2 separate regions of the Homo sapiens genome follow, and region 1 is linked to region 2. The links are contacts of gene promoters, found by promoter capture Hi-C in blood cells and fetal thymus (Javierre and others, 2016). All regions are on one chromosome and are shown on one strand. Each heading gives the region's core, a stretch centred on a gene start or on the middle of the fragment in contact. The rest is flanking DNA. Distances are from core to core; before and after follow the strand shown.

Region 1 (2,864 bases), core at 85-2,584, 530 kb before region 2:
TATCTTGAGAGTTATGGTTGAAATAACTTTTTTTCAAACAATTGTTTTTTGAACATTTCCTACAATAACATTTATTCAATGGTGGCTATGAGCTGGCACTTTGCTCAGTGCTTTTCCTACTTTTTGTTTTAAAATAACATCTACGACAATTTAAAATGCAATCAAAATTACATTTTGCTTTAAAGCTGTTTCAAGCTTAGTTATAAAAAGGTAGATCAGAAGAGCCTCTTTTTCTGTTTTTAAGTGTGTCTATGTGCCTGATTTTTTATCCAATTGGTCCTTATTGTTAACCTCCTTGTTCATGGACTACTTTTATTTGTGTGTTTCACAGTTAGCAAACTATGTGGTTGCCATAAATCCTTTTAATCAATCTCAGGGTGCACGCATGAGATGAACAGCAGCAAAGGAAAGTTCATTTTTCTAGGGTTCTTTCATTTCTCCTACCCCTCTGAAAACACCCTCCAAGGAAACAGTAGCAGATTCTACTGAGGGTGAGGCATTGAGTGGGGTGAGGACCAGTTACAGAAGAGAAGGCTCTCTGAAGTGCTGTCAAAAAATTGCTCCTGGGGAGGCCAGGTGTGGTGGCACAAACCTGTAGTCCCAGCTACTTGGAGGCTGAGGTAGGAGGATCTCTTGAGTCCAGGAGTTCAAGGCTGCAGTGAGCTGTGATTGAACCACTTCACAACAGCCTGGGGACAGAGCGAGACTCTGCCTCTTAAAAAAAAAAATTGCTCCTGGAGGCCTAAAAATTAAATGAAAGACATAGGGAGATGAGGAAAACACGATCCCATAAGCTGGGAGTTTCCATCTCTTCTTTCCACAGGTTTTTTTTTTCTTTTCTTTTTAAAGGTCTTGTTAAACTTAGAGACACAGCTCCTTGTCAAAGATGCCAAGAGTCTGAATCATAAAAGACATGTTAAACGTTCTATTAGAATTCAAACCTCCTTTTTTTAATGCAAATTTAAATGCCATTTTATGGAACATCTATAATTATGAAAATGGGAAGACATTGCCTCGTGTGCAGGGAGAGTCTGTGAGTATGAATATTACATTAATGTGCCCACACCAGCTCACTGATCCTGCTGGCAGGAGCATAAAAAATGCCTGAGTGAAACTTTTATTTAGATGTTAAGACTCCAGGCCCCAGCGGGGTGACAGAGACAGCCCCTGTGAGTTGCCATCAGAGAGAGAGCTTGAATTGAATTACCCAGGGGGGAGGAAGTAGTGATGAGCACTGCTTCGCTTATTTAATTTCATTTACTTTCAGTACATTATCAGCATGAGGTTTTTCTCTCCCCACCAACTGAAACCCAAGAATGCCACCACTAAGGAAACAAAGACATAATACAGCAGAGATGTAACTCTAAGTCACTAATTCTAGGAGACAAGGGATAGCACCATCACCACCTTCTCTCCCCAAGAGTCAAACTCAGTTTGCTAAAATTGGGTACCAAAGGAGCTGCTGAATTTTTTCTCTTGGTCATTCACTAACAAGATTCTGAAAAGGAATAGAGCTGGAAACAGCTTTTTATATGGTGTGTTTTTGTGTATAGTCAGTAAGATGTGTTATGTTGCTTTCTTTCTTTCTTTTTTTTGAGACAGAGTCTCACTCTTGTCGCCCAGGCTGGAGTGTAATGGTGTGATCTCAGCTCACTGCAACCTCCACCTCCCGGGTTCAAGCGATTCTCCTGCTCCAGCTTCCCAAGTAGCTGGGATTACAGGCATGCACCACCATGCCTGAATAGTTTTTTGTATTTTTAGTAGAGACGGGGTTTCTCCATGTTGGTCAGGCTGGTCTTGAACTCCTGACCCCAGGGGATCCAGCCGCCTCGGCCTCCCAAAGTGCTGGGATTACAGGCATGAGCCACCGCACCCGGTCTATGTTGCTTTCTTATTCATTAGACAGAATCTGTATTGAGGAATTCTCTTGCCTGGTTCCCCTTATGGGCAGTGGGAAAAAATGGGATTATAGGCTCAGTTTAGAATGTCTACGGAAAAAAAATTAGGAAATGAGGTCAGATCAGTCTCTAGTCTACTAACTGTCTTCTGTGTACAAGGTACTGTGTGGTGAGTTCAATAACAGAGTTGTTCTCAATGTAGTTGGCTCTGAGCTCAATCTCATTAGCTCCATGATCTATCTGACAAATCCAAATAACCAAGGTGGGAATCCACAGTGGCATGCAAGGTACCTCCTCTTTCAGTGTCAGCGCAGGGTCCTACTGATCAAGAACTAGTGATCCTGAGGATGAACAGTGTTAGCCATGCCATGGGGTGATGAGGCAGGAATCTTGTATGCCTGGATCCACACCTACTGGTAAACGAACAGATCTGCAGAGAACTACTTAATGCATAATAGAAAGTATGTAAAATATGCTTTAAAGGACGGTTATAAAAATAGGAAGAAGTTGCAAACAATTGTATAAGTTGCTATTTTAAGGCAAACAATTTATATTTAAGTATACAATTAAAAAAAGAAGCTTTTTATTCATTACCTGAGAAAAGATATCACCACCGTCATGAAAAAATAAAAATGATTTTGATTTATTGAGAATAAATGGCCCTCTTGGCTAAGTCTAAAGGTGTATTACATTATATCAGCACAAAACAGAATTACATTAGTGTCATAATCTCTCCCTACCACTACACTTAACTAAACCTCTCAGAACAGCCCGTATAAAGAAAAGATTCACTTAGCTGAAGGATATGGGGCCACAAAGATAAGATCAACAGAGAAGTATGTTACCCAGAAGTGATGGCCACCCAACTTTCATGGCAGATGAAGATAAAAGAAATTCTCAGATATCTTTCTCTTCATCTAGTTTCCTTTAAACCCTTGTATCCCACCCACATCAAAAAAAGCAATA
Region 2 (3,067 bases), core at 525-3,024:
TATGCAGATCTGTCCAGTGCCTGAGGAGGGGCTGGGTCTAGGGTGTTTGGGTGCACCTGTGTGATCTCAGCTGGGTGACTCCGGATGGAAGCAGGTGCTTGTTAGTGTCTGAAGGGCCTTGCAGGGAGAGGTATGTTGACAATAGAGGAGTCCCTGGGCTTTCTATTTTTTCAGTTGGTGGTAGAGGTTAAGCGCTCCTGTTTTGGGACCCAGATCAAGTAACTTACCCTCTTAGTTTCAATTTCTTTAGGTTATAAAGTGCTCACTCAATTGTGGGTTTTGTCATTATGGGAGGGGGAACTGGCAGGGAAGGAGCCAGCTGTGGGGAGAAGAGAGTTAGGTGAGTCCTGAGTGTTTTTGTGGATTACTGTGCCCACCCCAAGACCAATGACTTGGCAATATCAGTGGTTGGCTGAAGATGTGAGCATGTGGTCCCCAGCCTGCTTCTGTACTGGACCCAGAGCCCCTGTGCGCACACATGCCTGCTGTGGCATTGATCCCACACTTGGCAAGGCAGAGCTTCTGAGAGGGTGCAGGAAAGGGAATAAGGAAGCCAGGGGCCCAGAGAAAAAGGTGCAATTATTATTATTATTATTATTTGTCACAGAGTCTCACTCTGTCACATAGGCTGGAGTGCAATGGCATAATCTCAGCTCACTGCAACCTCCACCTCCCAGGTTCGAGCAATTCTTGTGCTTCAGCCTCTTGAGTAGCTGGAATTACAGGTGTGAGCCACCATGCCCAGCTAATTGTTGTATTTTTAGTAGAGACAGTTTTCACTATGTTGGCCAGGCTGATCTCAAACTCTTGGCCTCAAGTTATCTGCCCACTTCAGCCTCCCAAAGTGCTGGGATTACAGCCATGAGCCACTATGCCTGGCCCGTTTTTATTTTTTTAAGGCCCAGAGCTTTTGCCTTAAGGATGAGTTAGTTTAAAAAAGAAAAATTGTTATAATCACAGTTAACTTTCACCCAGTTTCCTTTTTTAAAAAAATTTTATTGTATAAATAGAGACAGCGTCTTGCTACATTGCCCAGGCTGGTCTGGAACTCCTGTGCTCAAGGAATCTTCCTGCCTCGGCCTCCCGAAATTCCAGAATTACAGGCTGAGCCATCACTCCTGGTCTCGCCCAGTAGATGTTTCAAAGTAGATGTTTTCTAAAATATTTTACAATATTTACAAATTTTAAATAATAATAACGTTATCAATATTAATTTTGCTTATGCCAGGACTCCATCCCATTGGAGACAAACATTAAGTCTTATGGCAGACCTTACAGCGGGTGCTAGTTCCCACTCCCAAGCCTCTCCCCCGCCTAGGTCCTGCAGGTCCCGCGTGCTGCGAAACATTTTCTTTGTCCCTTTCTGCCCAGGGCGGCTGCCGGTCTCTCCAGGAACCGCGAGTAGGTGCTCCCGCCAGGTGGTATCGGTGAAAGCCTGCTGCTCACCCTTCCCTTGTTTCCCAAAACTTCTGAAGGCTCCCAAATTCCTGGGAGACCCTCTCCCAGGGCCTCCTGATGCAGCTACCATACTGAGCGATCCGTCGATAACGCCCTTGGCCCACCGATCAGTTTACCTTATTAGAGAGAAAAGCACTCTTGGAGGTAGTAAGATGGGCCGGTCCTTGATCTGAGAAATGGGCGCACAACATCGCTGTTCTCTCTGCAAAGGTGGGGACCAGAATCCAGCTTGCCTGACCTTGCAAGCAAGCATCGGCCTAAAGGTTTCAGCCTCCCAGTGGCGCTCTGTTTGCACGCCTTAGGCTAGGAGAGGAAGGACGGGAGCACAGCACTGGGTGCCCCTCTCCCTGTAGAGTCTGGGGCGGGGCTCAGTAAGAAGGCCTGCGGTTGGTGGCTCCCCACCTCATAGCTGCAAGTAGGGGCGAAAGCTGGAGTGTCTCCTCCCAGCAGCCTCCTCGCCTCCCCGCAAACCTCCGAATCTCCCTGGACCTCCTGGTTGCTGTGGCCCTTCCTCCCCTGATTGGCTTCCTCCCTCTTTCCCAAGGCCAGAGAAGTCCTCTCTTCCCCTCACCTTCCTCCCTCTTCCCATAAAACTTTTAGGAAAATGGGGGCGGGGGCGGTGGAGACCACCAGCCTGGAACTTCAAGTTCAATGGCAAAGTCCCTGACCCTCCCCCCAGGCTGGGCGCCAGCATTATTCTAGGGGCGATTAAACTCTTTTGCTGCCCCCTGTGCACCTCCCAGTTCGGGGGCAGTTTAGGGGAGGAGAGAAGGTAATGGTGGAATTCTTTCCCTCACTCTCCCCCGACCACTTCGTCCCCTCCCCCTCATCCCCTCTACACAGAACTAACTGGTAGGGAGAGAGGAAGAAAGGCTGGCATCGGTTCCTCATTGGATGTTTTAAATCTGTCTCAGGCCCAGGCCAGTGCCTGGGGGGAGGGGCGGGGTGTCCTGCTTTTGGGCTAGAGGCCCGGGGCCGCTCCCGAGCTTTCTCCCCTCTTCCCTGGAGAGCGACTGTTCGGGAGGGTGAGAATGGTATAAATTTCAAAAACAACGAAACCTTCTTTTGCCCCCTCCGCAGCAGTCGCCTCCGGGCTTTATTGCAAGTTTACGGTAACGAGTTCATCTATTTAATTCGCGGTTGCAGCTCGGGGATTTCTATTAGACAGGACGGGTTGGGGCCGGGGGGCACAGGGTCTCCCCTGAAGGAAACCCAATTAGAGTGCAGCACTTAGCACCTTCAATATAACTTTAATGAAGGGGGGGAGGGGAGCTGCAGGGAAGAGAAGTTTGCTCTAGGTTGGGGAAGGAAAGCTGGAGCTGCTCCCGAGAACTGGGGGGCCTGGATGAGGCTTTTTCCTGCTTCGAGGGCTTTCCAGCTTCCGGCCCGGGAACTACTATTTGGAGTAGGGATCGCCTGCAGGGAAGGCGGGGCGGATTCTCGGCTGGCGGCGGCCTCGCAGGGTTCCCGGAAGCGCTAGCCAGCCGGAGTAAAACCCGAAAGATGGAGCCTCAGGTTCGCGCTCTGCGTTGCGGGTGCTGGAACCGAGATTCAAAAAGAGCTTCCGGAGGTAGTTTCTACGCATTGCGCCACTACTCCCTTATTCGGC

The links. The method cuts DNA at HindIII sites, captures the fragments that hold promoters and counts their contacts. A CHiCAGO score of 5 or more calls a contact.
Region 1: a fragment that was not itself captured here is called in contact with the fragment with the promoter of PRAC1 in region 2 in 1 of 17 cell types (M2 macrophages); the score reaches 6.7 in M2 macrophages.

Annotation. Positions count from the first base shown.
Region 1 is chr17:48,191,464-48,194,327 of GRCh38, forward strand. All of the region lies in intron 4 of SKAP1 (src kinase associated phosphoprotein 1), which reads right to left. Among named protein-coding and RNA genes, the nearest start is that of MIR1203, 36 kb to the left of the region's middle. RefSeq lists an enhancer at 706-1,323. The HindIII fragment of the contact is 2,282 bases long and covers 194-2,475 here.
Region 2 is chr17:48,720,744-48,723,810 of GRCh38, forward strand. It overlaps PRAC1 (PRAC1 small nuclear protein), which reads right to left and starts at 1,775. Exons shown (of 2, transcript NM_032391.3): 1 at 1,575-1,775; 2 at 976-1,156. The coding sequence starts at 1,649. The coding sequence ends at 1,058. It overlaps PRAC2 (PRAC2 small nuclear protein), which reads left to right and starts at 2,442. Exons shown (of 2, transcript NM_001282275.2): 1 at 2,442-2,570. RefSeq lists enhancers at 1,721-2,235, 2,236-2,751. The HindIII fragment of the contact is 8,116 bases long and covers 1-3,067 here.